Linked DNA regions of Homo sapiens: all the other regions are linked to region 3. The links are contacts of gene promoters, found by promoter capture Hi-C in human tissues and cell types (Jung and others, 2019). All regions are on one chromosome and are shown on one strand. The core of a region is centred on a gene start or on the middle of the fragment in contact, and the rest is flanking DNA. Distances in the headings are between cores, read along the strand shown. Region 1 overlaps MAD1L1 (mitotic arrest deficient 1 like 1). Region 2 overlaps MAD1L1 (mitotic arrest deficient 1 like 1). Region 3 holds the start of NUDT1 (nudix hydrolase 1). Region 4 overlaps MAD1L1 (mitotic arrest deficient 1 like 1).

Evidence for each region. The method cuts DNA at HindIII sites, captures the fragments that hold promoters and counts their contacts. A contact is called where the count stands out against the background at its distance.
Region 1: a fragment that was not itself captured here is called in contact with the fragment with the promoter of NUDT1 in region 3 in 1 of the 25 tissues and cell types used here (lymphoblastoid cells).
Region 2: a contact is called between a fragment that was not itself captured here and the fragment with the promoter of NUDT1 in region 3, in 2 of the 25 tissues and cell types used here (lymphoblastoid cells and spleen).
Region 4: a fragment that was not itself captured here is called in contact with the fragment with the promoter of NUDT1 in region 3 in 2 of the 25 tissues and cell types used here (mesenchymal stem cells and mesendoderm cells).

The regions. Positions count from the first base shown.
Region 1 is chr7:2,074,711-2,078,085 of GRCh38, forward strand. All of the region lies in intron 11 of MAD1L1 (mitotic arrest deficient 1 like 1), which reads right to left. Among named protein-coding and RNA genes, the nearest start is that of SNORA114, 13 kb to the right of the region's middle. The HindIII fragment of the contact is 9,448 bases long and covers 1-3,375 here.
Region 2 is chr7:2,019,627-2,023,213 of GRCh38, forward strand. All of the region lies in intron 12 of MAD1L1 (mitotic arrest deficient 1 like 1), which reads right to left. Among named protein-coding and RNA genes, the nearest start is that of SNORA114, 68 kb to the right of the region's middle. RefSeq lists a silencer at 1-35 and enhancers at 176-325, 367-1,186. The HindIII fragment of the contact is 8,467 bases long and covers 1-3,587 here.
Region 3 is chr7:2,240,753-2,244,462 of GRCh38, forward strand. It overlaps NUDT1 (nudix hydrolase 1), which reads left to right and starts at 1,474. Exons shown (of 4, transcript NM_002452.4): 1 at 1,474-1,504. MRM2 (mitochondrial rRNA methyltransferase 2) reads right to left here and starts at 1,453. Exons shown (of 3, transcript NM_013393.3): 1 at 1,410-1,453. The coding sequence starts at 1,417. RefSeq lists an enhancer at 1-837 and a silencer at 1,160-1,379. The HindIII fragment of the contact is 10,120 bases long and covers 1-3,710 here.
Region 4 is chr7:2,035,935-2,039,280 of GRCh38, forward strand. The region is part of intron 12 of MAD1L1 (mitotic arrest deficient 1 like 1); the gene reads right to left. Among named protein-coding and RNA genes, the nearest start is that of SNORA114, 51 kb to the right of the region's middle. The HindIII fragment of the contact is 3,001 bases long and covers 367-3,346 here.

The sequences.
Region 1 (3,375 bases), core at 313-2,812, 170 kb before region 3:
AGTAGGGCTCAGAGAAGGGAGTGTGGAGCTGCGAGGCAACAACTCAGTAACCACAATGGGCAGAAGACAGGCCATCAGCAAACCAGCAAGCAGGTGCCTCCTGACACTGGAGGGGAAACCGGAGGCTGGGGGGGCCCTCGGGGAGGGGTGGCGGGACAGCCTGTGGTGTCAGAGACAGGCGGTGTCAGAGCCGGGGACGCTTCCAATGGGCAGCTGGCGTGCTCATTCGTGGTCAGCCCAGTGGGCCCGAGGTTGGGCCAACCGGGAGCAATGGGCAAGGTCACAAGAGGACGAGCAAACCAGGAACGGCCTCTGCACGGGACGTGGAGAGCGGGCTGAGCCAGAGGGGCAGGAAGGCAAGGAGCAGGCTGGCATGTGTCCATGAGGTGCCGGCGTCTCGAGAGGAGGGGAAGGTCCAGCAGAGGCAGCCCTGTCCTGAAGACCCGAGGAAGTGGCAATTAGGAGCCAAGCCCTGGAGGTGCAGGAAGGGCCGGCACAAAGTGGACGGCCCCAGAGTGCAGCCTAAAGGCCCCCCATCTAGCGTTTCAGACACCGCCAACAAGTGGTGCTGCCCACCCAGGCGTGCAGGTAGAGGCGCTCCGGCAAGATGGCCTCTGCCTCCCACCCCTCAGGCCCTGCAGGGCACCGGGACCCAGCACGCTGAGCCACAGCGGCACCAGCGACGGCGGGCTCTCCCCTGTTGGGGATGTTCTCTCTGTTCAATCCCGGCCTTTCTTCTGAGGTACAGAAGAGAAAACTCAAAAAATTAAGCCTCTAGTTCCATGCTTGGACTGAACTCTGAGGTCACTGGCATTTCCGTGAGCCTCTGGGAGTTCAGAATGAAGTTCTTAGTTCCTCAAGGAGAAGCCAGGCATGTTTATCAATCAATGGCTCTCTGAGCCAGCCTCTACTCAAAGAACAAGCTCTGAGCTTCTGAGCATCCATCTGCGCTGTGACCAGCCACTGCCGGCCACTTTAATGTGATCTTCATCAGAAACTCCCGGCCTAAGAATACCGACTTTCAAGGAACAACGAAAGGACACAATGTATCCCAAAGTGGCAGGAGACATTTTAACGACCTTCCTCAAGACACTGCTGAGCCAGCTCTTCCACGCACGACCCATTCCTCCCACACACTCTTTGTCTACCTTCTCCCAAGTCCCAGCCCACTGTGAGCACCCGCCAAGGCAAGGGCAGGCATCGCACAAACAGGCATCACTGGACTCTCCCCAGAAACCATGGGGCTCTGGAGCACAGGAGCCCACGGCGTGGCCACCGCGGGAGACAGGCTCTGAGAGAGGCCAGGACAGGTGGTGCTGGGGTCTAAGGCGAAGCAGTTGTGTGCTCCCGGGACCTGATCCGACCCTTGGGATGGTATGAGGCGGCTGTTCCCGCCCCAGTCACAAGGCTGAGTGGTGCCTGGAGTGTGGATCCACAGGGTATGAAGACGCCTCCACAGCCACGCCCGGGCCCAGGGCAAAACCAGCACGTTTTGGGCAGTGCACAGAATGCCTGTGTCGTCCCAAGTTCACCTGTGAAAACCCAGATCCCCAATGTGATGGTGACCAAACGGGGGCCCCTGAGAGGGCATTCGGTCCTGAGGGCGGAGTGCTCCCAATGGGATGCGCAAGTTGTAAGCAGCACAAAGCTCGAGTCCTCTCCCTCTGCCCTGTGAGGACAGGGGCTGGTCATCTGCAAACCAGGAAGAGAGCCCTCCTCAGACCCGGCACTGCCATCCTGCACTCCTCAGCTCCACAGCTGTGAGAAACGGACGTCTGTTCAGATCCCCGACTATGGTACTTTGTTAAGTGAGCCCGAACACAGACGGTCTCCTAACCCATAACGCCCAGACACACTGTTCACACATGGGCATGGGGTCACACCGAGGCTTCCGGGCTGATGACTGCCCCAACACAGTTATGACACAGTGAGCCCACAGCACAGTTAGCCTGCAGCACAGTGAGCCCGAGACACAGGTATGACACAGCGAGCACATGGCATGGTGACCCTGAGACAGGGTTACGACTTGGTGAGCCCGCAACATGGTGAGCCCAAGACGGTTACGACATGGTGAGCTCACGGCACAGTGAGCCTGAGATGGTTACGACACGATGAGCCCGCAGCACGGTCAGCCTGAGACGGTTACAACATGGTGAGCCTGTGGCACGGTGAGCCCAAGACAGGGTTACGACATAGTGAGCCCACAGCATGGTCAGCCCGAGACAGTTATGGCACAGTGAGCCCGCGGCACGGTGAGCCCGCAGCATGGTGAGCCCGAGACGGTTATGACACAGTGAGCTCACGGCACGGTGAGCCCGAGACAGAGTTACGACTTGGTGAGCCCGCGGCATGGTGAGCCCAAGACAGAGTTACGACTTGGTGAGCCCGCGGCATGGTGAGCCCGAGATGGTTACGACATGGTGAGCTCGCAGCACGGTGAGCCTGCCAGTGGCCTCAAGGGTTAAGATGTAAACACAGCCGCATGCACGGTGATCCTCAGTGATGACGTCTGGCATGAAACTAGGAAAATACTAATAAAATTGTATTCGAACCTTGGCAAAATCTCTAAAAGCACCTTTATTCTTAGCTATCTGAGGAACATAGATCAAGACCCACCCACAAGTATGATTTTTAATCATCTCGATTTTACAGATGAGTAAATTCAAGCCTTGAGCGACTGAGTCATGAGCATGAAGCCACCGTGTCCCCCAGGACACCACTGTACTGACCTCCAGGGTCTCCAGGGCCATGCCTTGAGCACCCCCATAGGGCTGGGGGGAGACGCCCCAGTCGGGCCAAGCAACAGCACTGCCACACAGGTGACACGTTCCATGTGTCTCTCAGGAAGAGAGCAAGTGCACGGGCTTGGCTGAGCCAGCGGTTGGGAGGGCTGCGACCCAGCGGGGAGCAGTGAACTCTAACTGGTGGCCTGGAGCAGGTACACGAGACAAAAAGCAGTGCCGTTCTGCAGGAGGCGCGCGGGAGCAGGAGACAAGGATCCAGGAGGCTAGCAGGGAGCAGAGGACAGGCTCCAGCCCCAGTGGACAGCCTGCCCTGCTCTGCTCCGGAAGCACCCACAGGTTCTGAAAGAGGATATCGCTGGACAGAACAACCTCCCAAACCACACGTGCTCGTCCTCCAGTCACAAGAACTGTACACAGAGCTGTGTTCACAGGCGCCCGTCGGGGAGCCTCGCAGCAGCCTGGATCTAGAGGCAAAATTTTAAATGGAGCACGAACTGGTTTCAGAAATACTCTCCCGGAAGGCCAGGGTTCCCAGACAGGGCAGAAGCAACACTGAGCATGTTCAGGCATCCACATTCGCTCCTTGCTAAGAGGGAACACCGGGGAAGGGCCCCCACTCACCACAGAGAGG
Region 2 (3,587 bases), core at 583-3,082, 220 kb before region 3:
GGGTGGGGGTCGGGCTGCCCGGCCCAGCCCCAGCCACCCCCCACACAAGGCCACGCCTCGCCACCCTCCACCCACGCAAGGCCACGCCTCACCACCCCCAACGCAAGGCCACGCCTCGCCACGCCACAGTGCTGAGTGCACATGAGGCGGCGTCCCTGTGCTCGGCCCACGCCTGCTCCTGGGCCGGATGCCCTGGCCCCCACAACCAACTACAGAACGCTTCGCCTCCTGTCTGTCCCTCGCTTCTCTTTCCTGGGCCTGCTGCCCCTAAACGAGGTTTTTTTTTTTGACAACTGACTGTTTTCAAGTATGATTCACTCAGGCAGATTTTAATTGGTGACATCAGCACAGCATGCTAATGCTACATATGACTTAAGCACACGTTACCTCATTTGATCTTCAGAACCGCCAGGCAGGCACAGGGCTGAGGGAAGAGGACTCAGCAGCTGCGAGCTGTTGTGGCTGCCCTGTCGCTCAGACCACGGAGGGGCAGAGCCCCGGCTGGTGCTGCAAACAGAGGAGCCGCCCAGGCTGCGGCCCTACAGTCCCGGGGTCAGCGCCCAGCCCGGGGAGGCAGTGCCATGGACAGCCTCACTGGTGAGACCACTGGAAGTGGCTCTCCATGATCGGGGGGGGCACTAACCCCCGCTCTGGGCTGCCGGAAGGAGGAACTCACGAGGCCCGAGATTGCTATCCACAGCCCCAGCGTGACCCCAGCATTCCCATCAAGGCGTGCACCCGGCCCCGGCACCATGCGGCCCCCACCCTTGCCTTCCTGCGGCTCTGACCCTGCAGTTCCCAGCAGCCTTCAGAGGACGGAACGCCATGGGCACACGGCAGCTGTGAGACCGAGCCGCAGGGGGACGCCCGGCCCTGACATCATGGGAACAAGCTAGAGCAGAACACCATGAGGACCCCGCCTCTGTGAGAGCAAAGCCAGCTCCCTGGGTCCTCTCTCACCTGCCCGGGCTGCCCTGGTACCCGGAGTCTAGGGGCCTCCTGGGAGGGAGGCTGACCCGGTGGCTGTGGGCAGAGACGAAGGAAAACATCGGACGGACTTCAGGCACTAGTTAAAAACACACACAAGACAGGAGAAACTTCATCTGAGACGACAGCGGCCTAAGCAAAAAGAATACTTTTTTTTTTTTTTAAGACAAGGTCTTGCTCTGTCGTCTAGGCTACGGTGCAGTGGCACAATCTCAAGAATGAATAACTTAGAAGAAAATGTATTAATTTAATGGTTAGAGTAGAAAGGCTAAAACTGAAAGTAGCAAGCTAACTAACCAACATAAAAAATGAAAAAAAACAAAACAACATATGCAGAAAGTATAGGAATAAAAATAAAGATGAGAGCATAAATGAGCAAATGTAAAAACAGGTCCACAGAAACTTCCCGTACTAAAATGCACTGAGGAAAAAGCAATGAAAACAAAAGAAGAGGCGACCTAAGAACAGTGGGATGACCGTGAAGGTGGAACCTACTCATGACAGGAAAACCAGAAGGAGAAGGAGGCGAGGAGCGAACACAGTAAGTATCTGCCGTGATAATGGCCGAGATTTGTCAAATCTAAACCCCAGATCCAGGAAGCTCAGAGAACATCAAGCAGGAAAAATACCAAAAACTCCACACTTAGCCATATCATATTCAACTGTGGAAAATAAGACAGCCTGAGAAGGGAGAGCCCTTCATTATCAACCAAGAGAGTGAGAAATGCATCAGACCTCCTGACCGAAGCCACTCAGGCAGCAGAGAGGGGAGGGAGGTATCCAAGTACTGAAACAAAACAGCACCAGCCTGGAATTCTGCATCCAGCAAGATGATCTTCTGTAAGAAAAGCAGAAAGAAAAACTCTCAGCGGGGCACACTGGCTCACACTTGTAATCTCAGCACTTTGGGGAGCCAAGGCAGGCAGATGGTCTGGTGTCAGAGGAGTTTGAGACCATCCTGGACAATGCGGCGAAACCTCGTCTCTACTGAAAGTAGAAAAGTTAGCTGGGCATGGTAATAGGCGCCTGTAATCCCAGCTACTCGGGAGGCTGAGGCAGGAGAATCGCTTGAACCCAGGAAGTGGAGGCTATAGTGAGCCAAGATCGCACCACTGCACTCCAGCCTGGGCAACAGAGTGAGACTCTGTCTCAAACAAACAAACAAACAAAAAACACTCTCTTAGACAAACGAAAACTGGGGGAGATTGGTCATTGGCAGCCCTGGCCCCTGTAAGCAGTGTGAGGTGGATTCTCCAGAGAATCCCATGAGAGGTCAGAAACTCAGATCTATGTGGAAAGACAGAGCAGAGAAGTAACAAATAAGGAAAAATAAAATCTACTTTATTCATCTGTTTTTTTCGAGACAGAGTCTCACTCTGTTGCCCAGGCTGGAGTGCAGTGGTGTGATCATAGCTCACTGCAACCTCTACCTCTGGGGCTCAAGTGATCCTCCCACCTCAGCCTCCCAAGTCGCTGGGACTGCAGCTGTGAGCCGCTGAGCCTAGCTTACTTTCCTTAGTCTCGTTCATCTAATGGACGATTGTTTGAAGTATAGGAGCAGCAATGTGTGGGGTGACGATGGTGCAGGGATGGGTGAAATGAAGCAGCAGGTGGCACGGGAGGCAAGGGGAATGGGCGTGTTCTGCGGGAGGCGCCCACCCTGCCTGTGACCTGGTCAAAGGCCATCTGACCATGGGCTTAGATTCATGCTAAATGTATGCTGCAAACTCTAGGATAATTCTGTGCTTGGCTCATGCCTGTAATCCCAGCACTTTGGGAGGCTGAGGCAGGTGGATCACCCGAGGTCAGGAGTTCAAGACCAGCCTGGCCAACATGGCGAAACCCTGTCTCTACTAAAAATACAAAAATTAGCCGGGCATGGTGGCAAGATCACGCCACTGTACCCCAGCCTGGGCGACAAGAGCAAAACTCTGTCTCCAAAAGAAAAAAAAAATTCTGTGCTAACAGAATTAAAAAATTAAATCATATAACATGCTCAGTTAAAACCAAACAAAGCAGATAAAGAAAAGAAGATTTAAAAAAAACAAAGAACAAGTGTCCCAATAGAAAAGAGTAACAAACATGGCAGGTATTAACAGTATCAACGATCATTTCGAATGTGAATGATCTAAACACACCAATTAAAAGACGGTCAGGATGGATTAAAAAAACAAGACCCAATTATATGCTGTTTATAAGGAACCCACTTAAAATATAAACACACTTTGAAAGGAAAGGAAGAAAGCTAGACCACACTAAGCCCAAATAAAAGAACGGTGGAGCAGCTTGATCAATCTCAGGCAGAACAAGGAAACGATCAGGAATGAAAAATGGCACTCCATTCCGATAAAAAGGTCATTTCTCCAAGAAGACATGACCGCCCTTAACATGCATCTACTTAACAACAGTGTCTCAAAATATGCGAGGAAAACCTGAAAGAACTACAAGGAGAAATGGCTCAATTCACTGTTACAGTTGGAGGCTTCAACACCCTCTTATCAGAAACGGACAGATCCCGCAGGCAGAAAATCAGTGAGGACACAGCAGAATTCAATAGCCCCATCAATCAACTGGGTCTAAATGACAATGACAGAACACTG
Region 3 (3,710 bases), core at 224-2,723:
AGTGCAGTGACAGCTCACTGCAGCCTCCGACTCCCGGGTTCAAGCAATTCTCCTGCCCCAGCCTCCCAAGTAGCTGGGATTACAGGCACACCTGCTACCATGTCCGGCTAATGTTTGTATTTTCAGTATAGATGGGTTCCACCATGTTGGCCAGGCTGGTCTCAAACTCCTGACCTCCGCTGATCTGCCCGCCTTGGCCTCCCAAAGTGCTGGGATTACAGGTGTAAGCCACTGCACCCAGGCATTTCTTTCTTCTTTTTGTTTTTTTAGAGACAGGGTTTTACTATTACCCAGGCTGGAGTGCAGTGGCATGATCACAGCTGACTGCAGCCACAGCCTCTGGGGCTCAAGTGAACCTCCCACCTCAGCCTCCTGAGTAGCTGAGACTACAGGTGTGTGCCACCACTTCCGGCTAATTTTTCTATTTTCAGTAGAGATGGGATTTCACCATGTTGGCCGAGCTGGTCTCGAACTCCTGACCTCTGGCGATCAGCCCACCTTGGCCTCCCAAAGTGCTGGGATTACAGGCGTGAACCACCTCACCCGGCCATTTTTGTTTTGCTATCATCCAGGCTGGAGTTGCAGTGGCACAATCACAGCTGATTGCTGCCATAACCTCTGGGTCTCAAGTGAACCTCCCACCTCAGCCTCCTGAGTAGCTGGGACTACAGGTGTGCACCACCATGCCTGGGCTAATTTTTTTTTTTTTTTTAATTCTTAAAAACCTTTTTTAGAGATGGCATCTCACTACATTGCCTAGGCTGGTCTCGAACTCCTAGGCTCAAACGATCCTCCTGCCTCAGACTTCCAAAGTGCTGGGATGACAGGTGTGGGCCACCAAGCCCGGTCTCTATGTCCATCTTTCTGATTTAAATAAATAAATAAAAGTTACCACCCTCATGGCTCCAAGGCCAAAGCTTCTAGCTTCTGCAACACCAAAGCGTGCTGACAAGCCAGGAGGCACTGACTGCTGACCGTGAGTCGCTGTCTTCCCCTCGCTTAAGGGGTCTCCCGGGAAAATGGCACAAGCCGGTCCCGGGGGCCAGGGCCCACTCGACAGCCCAGGAAGCGCGGGCAATGGAGCTACCCGGCCCAGAAGCGAAATCCCGCCCCGGGCTCGCCCCCGGCGCCTTGGATCTGGGCCCCGGCGCTGCGCCCCCCACCTGGACTCCGCCGCCGGCCCCGGCCTCCCCACGGCCCCGCCGGCCCTGCCCCTGGAGACCTGAGGGCGCCCTCCTCCCGGGGAACTGCGACCCGGAATCCTGGCCTCGCCCCTGTCGCGCTCGCTGAGTGCGGGGACGGTGCCCAGCGCTCGGCACCCAGCCCCGAGGCCAGGACCGAGGAAGGCGACCGGGCGGACCCCCAACCACTCCCGCTGTCTGCACGCGCAGCAGCAGCGCCCAGCTCACCCCGCCATTGGTGTTCCCCGCGCCTGCAGCGCGCCGCCGGAAGTGCCTGGCCTCACTTCCGGTCAGAGGCCACGCCCCCGGAAGCGGCGGTGCAGGTACGAAAAGCGCGCGCGGGGATTCCAGGAGTCGTGGTGACCAGGGAGGGGAGCCGGGCCAGCGGGCGGCAGGAGACTAGGGGAGCTGAGCCATGGGCTTGGGGGAGAGCGGGGCCGGGAGCTCGAAGGAGACCAGAAGAGCAGGGTCGGGGGCTCGAGGGAGACGAGGAGAGCGGGGCCGGGGGTTTGGGAGAGAGACAAGGAGAGCGGGGCGGAGGCTTGGGGGAGACCAGGAGTAAATCACAAAAATTTACTTTGGAAACCGTGGCTTCTGGCAGAAACAGATCAGTGTCGGGACAAAGTACACGGGCCTGGTGTGAAACTAAGCCACAAACCCATTTACCCTGTCTGACCTGCCTCCGCCACCAGGACCCAGTCTCAGTGAAATGGGAAAGGTTCCCTTGTCCTCCTCGAAGGGCGTGCGATGAGGATGTGGCTCACTTCTTCAGTGCCCCGCTTCTCAAGCCTCTAGGGGAACATACAGACAGGCAGGCTGAGGGGCTCCCACCCCACGGCAGTGTCTAGGGGTGAATGTTTGCAGCTCCTGAAGCCCCAGCAGGCATGTGTTAGAGGGTGCTCTTTCAGTTTAGCCTTGTAGGTGGCTTGTGTTAGTCAGCTGTTAGACTCCCTGCCTTATCGCAAGGACAGAGGGCTTTCTGTATCCCTAGGTTTCTTGCCTTGATGTACTGGAGCAATCAGATCACACGGCGGCTTGGAGAGTGAGTGCAAGGTTTTATGAGTGGAATTAGCCCTCAGCAGATGGGGGAGCCAGAAGGCAGTTGGAGTGGGAAGGTGATTTTCCCCTGGAGTCGGGCTGCTGAGCAGCCTGGGCTCTCCTCTGACCGCCCCTGCCAAACTCATGGTTCCATCAGTTGATGGCCTGCTGGTGCCTGTTGGTGTGCTTTCCACGTCCTCTTGACGTCCAGCGGCTTGTGTCTCTGCCCACTATAAAAAACCACTGGGGTTTTTTTATAGGCACAGGACGGGGACGTGGCGGGCTCGGGAAATGCAACATTTGGGCAAAAAAACAGAAATGCCTGTCCTCACCCAGGTCCCTGGGCACAGGCCTGGGTGTGGAGCCCTGGCCAGAGACCACGCCCTCCTCTACCCAGCACTTCCCTGCCCCCTTCCTTATCATCTGGTCCCTTTTCTCAGACACCACAACTTCCAAGAAGGATCACTGGTCCTGAACCCTGTGTCTTGTCCAGGTGTGGACCCCAGAAAAGTTGGTCCTGGCTGGGCGCAGTGGCTCACGCCTGTAATCTCAGCACTTTGGGAGGCTGAGGTGGGTGGATCGCTTGAGCTCAGGAGTTCGTGACCAGCCTGGGCAACGTGACAAAACCCCATCTCTACTAAAAATACAGAAATTAGCTGGGTGTGGCGGCTCATGCCTGTGGTCCCAGCTATGTGGGATGCTGAGGCAGGAGGATGGCTTCAGCCAGGGAGGCGGAGGTTACAGTGAACCGCGATCACGCCACTCTCCTCCAGCCTGGGCAACAGAGCAGGATCTTGTCTCAAAATAAATAAAGGAAAGTTGGTCCTGGCCCTCCAGCATTTCTCCAGGGTCCTTTTTTCAGCAGGGACCTGGCGGAGGCATCGCCCTCAGAGTCCTCTGGACCTGGACCTGCACACCTATGGGAGCAGGAAGGACCCTTGTGACTTCCAGTGGCCCCCCTGGGTGCCAGGTCCCACAGTAGCCACAGCAGGAGCAGAGTGGGTGGGGTATAAACTCCTATCACAGGAGGGAGGACTAGCCGGGCCTGGCTGGGTGGACCTGTGTCTACAGCCACACATTTCCTGGGAATCTGGAAGCCTGCTACAGAGAGGCCAGGTCCCACTAGACTGAAAGAAGTTCCTGTTAATCCAAAGGCCTGACCTGAGGACCACAGGATAAACTGCGTGGTTATTTTGGTGCCAATCAGGCACGGGGACTGTTGTTCCTCACTGTGTGCCTATAAGCAGGGGGTTCCTGGGGGTAGACGCAGGAGCAAGAGCACGCTCTGGAAAGGTGATGTTGTCCTCTGCACCTGAGTACTGACTTGTGGAGAAGGAAGGTAGCGCCGGCCTCTGCTCTGCTTGATCAGCCCTGCTGACCACTGGGTTCTGTTTCTACCCCAGAAAATCACTGGTTCAATGGCAGTTTTCCACCTGCCACAAGGGAAGCCACACGTGGCAGGGCTGGGGAGTTACAGCATACCCCCCCGCC
Region 4 (3,346 bases), core at 617-3,116, 200 kb before region 3:
GGACAGAGCTGGGGTCCAGGCTCCCAGGCATGAGCGCGGGAGCACTGACAAGTCGGGACAGAGCTGGGGTCCAGGCTCCCAGGCATGAGCGCGGGAGCACTGACAAGTCGGGACAGAGCTGGGGTCCAGGCTCCCAGGCATGAGCGCGGGAGCACTGACAAGTTGGGACAGAGCTGGGGTCCAGGCTCCCAGGCATGAGCGCGGGAGCACTGACAAGTGGGGACAGAGCTGGGGTCCAGGCTCCCAGGCATGAGCGCGGGAGCACTGACAAGTCGGGACAGAGCTGGGGTCCAGGCTCCCAGGCATGAGCGCGGGAGCACTGACAAGTCGGGACAGAGCTGGGGTCCAGGCTCCCAGGCATGAGCGCGGGAGCACTGACAAGTCGGGACAGAGCTGGGGTCCAGGCTCCCAGGCATGAGCGCAGGAGCGCTGACAAGTCAGGACAGGGGAGGACGATGCATTCCTGCGCCACCTCCGTGCGGGGAACCAGAGCTCCAGCCTGAATCCCTTAGGGTTGGCTCAGAGTCCTCTCTGGATGAAGTGTCTAGTCTGAGGAGGACAATCCATCCGGTCGTGAGTTTGGACTCTTCCTACACACAAAGGCCAATATATCAAAATTAAATCCCACGGAAGCCCAGGTTGTCACTGGAGAGCATTCCCCAAGCTCCAGGCAGTGGTAAATCAGAGGCCTGAATCCACTGTGGGCCCTCTTTTGAACAGAAGACAAAAGGAAGAGCTTACCCCTAAAGGCAACCCAGCAACCCAGACGTGTGCCTGTCCCACCTCCCCAAGGCCAGGGCTCCTGATCAGAGGTGCTGTAAAGACTCAACAGCCCTGGCAGTACAGGGAGCCCAAGCAGGTGTCGGAAATGACACTGGGTACCTAGAATCCTAAGAACTAAGCTGTCTACAGATGCAGACCAACCAGGTGGGAGGTGGTCAGCTAGATCCCACCAACGCCACTCATACCCACCAACGCGCACGAGGCACGCTCCGCCTCCTGAACACTCCTCCCAGGGCTCCTCCAGCACTCCTCCCACAGCTCCCCCCACAGCACGAGCTTCCGCGTGCCCACCCACGCGCAGAAGACCTCCACCTGCCGCATGCTCCTCCCACAGCTCCCCCCACAGCATGAGCTTCCACGCGCCCACGAAGGTGTCCAGCCATGCAGCAAACGTGGATCAGGCCCAGGTACACATCAGATCTCACCGGTTCCAGTGCCTTCTGCCACGTGGAAATTTCGGCTCCTTCTTTGTCTTCTTAATAGACTCTTCTTTTTTTTTTTTTTTTTTAGAACGGGTTTAGATTTAGAAGAATGGAGAAGATGGTAGAGACTTTTCACATATTCCACACCCAGGTGCCCCACTGTTAACATCTTACACGAGCACAGTGTGCTGGCCACAATAAGGAGCCAGCATGGACCCAGGCACGCCTTGCTCTCCTGGACTACACAGATACTGTGCTTCTTACAAATGGAAGGCTTGTGGCCGTCCTGCCTTCGGCGAGGCACCATGTTCCCAACAGCATGTGCTCCCTACACGGCTCTGTCACATCTGGTAATCCTCATGGCGTTTCAGACATTGTATCACTATTATATCTGTTGTGGTCTGTAATGGGTGGTCTCTGATCTTACTACTGTCATTGATTCTGGGGCGCCACGTCCTGACTGTACTTCCGACATTGCATCACTGTTATGTCTGTTGTGGTCTGTGATCGGCGGTCTCCGATCTTACTGCTGTCATTGATTCTGGGACGCCACACACTATGCTCCTCAGACGGCAAAAGCTTCACCGACCAACGCTGCTTGTGTCTGGCTGCTTCACTGACCAGCCATCTCCCTCCCTCCCTCTCCTTGGGCCTCTCTATTCCCTGGGCGACACAACAGTATTAAAATCAGGCCAATTAATAACCCTACAACAGCCTCTAAGCATTCAAGAGAAAGGAAGAGTCGCATGTCTCTCCTTTAAACCAAAAGCTAGAAAGGATTAAGCTTAGTGAGGAAGGCGTGCCAAAAGCAAAGATAAGCCGAAAGCCAGGCCTCTCGTGCCAAACAGCTCGCCAAGTTGTGAATGCAAAGGGAAAGTTCTTGGAGGAAATTAAAAGTGCTGCTCCACTGAACACACCAACGATAAGAAAGTGAAACTGTCTTATTGCTGATACGGAGAAGTCTGAGTGGTCTGGATAGATCAAACCAGCCCCAACATTCCCTTAAGTCAGAGCAAGTTCCACGAGGCTGAGAGAGGTGGGAAAGCTGCAGAATTCAAGTCTGAAGCTAGCAGAGGTGGGTTCATGAGGTTTACATTAAGAGGCAGTCCCCATCACATAAAAGTACAAGGTGAAGCCGCAAGTGCTGACGGAGAAGCTGCAGCAAGTTCTCCAGAAGATCCAGCTAAGAGCACCAATGAAGGTGGCCACACTAAACACCAGATTTGCAGTGCACATAAAACAGCCTTCTGCTGGAAGATGCCGTCTAGGGCTTTTACAGTTACAGAGGAGAAGTCGATCCCTGCCTTCAAAGTTTCAGAGGACAAGCTGATGCTGTTAGGAGATAATGAAGCTGATGACTTTTTTTTTTTTTTTTTTTTTTTTTTTTGAGACACAGTCTCACTCATTCTGTCACCCAGGCTGGAGCACGGTGGCACAATCTTGGCTCACTGCAACCTCCGCCTTCTGGGTTCAAGCAATTCTCCTGCCTCAGCCTCCCAAGTAGCCGGGATTACAAGTGTGTGCCACCACGCCTCACTAATTTTTTGTATTTTTAGTAGAGACAGGGTTTCACCATGCTGGCCAGGATGGTCTCGAACTCCTGCTGACCTCAAGTGATCCGCCCACCTCGACCTCTCAAAGTGCTGGGATTCCATGCATCAGCTACTGTGCCTGATCTAAGCTTTTTATTTTGATCCAATTACAGATTCACTTGGAGCTATAAAAAATAATACAGAGATCACAAGTAGCATTCATCCAGTTCCTCCCAATAGCAACATCTGGCACAACTACAGCACAGTATCACAACCCGTATGCCGACAATGATACAGTCAAGATACAGCACATTTCATCACCACAAAAACCCCTCGGGTTGTCCGTTCACAGCCACGATTCCTCCTGTGCGTCTCCGTAACTCACGGCAGCCATCCACAGGCTGTCTATCACTTCAGCCTTTTAATAACGTCATGCAAATGGGATCATGCAGCACACGACCTTCAGGGACTGGGCTCTTCGCTCCGCTAAACTCCCTGGAGATCTATTCAAGTATGTTTATCCACAGTGAATTCCTTCTTAGTCCTGAGTATTACTCTGTGTGACGGAGGCACTACCGTTGTTTAACCATCACCACCGAAGGACATCAG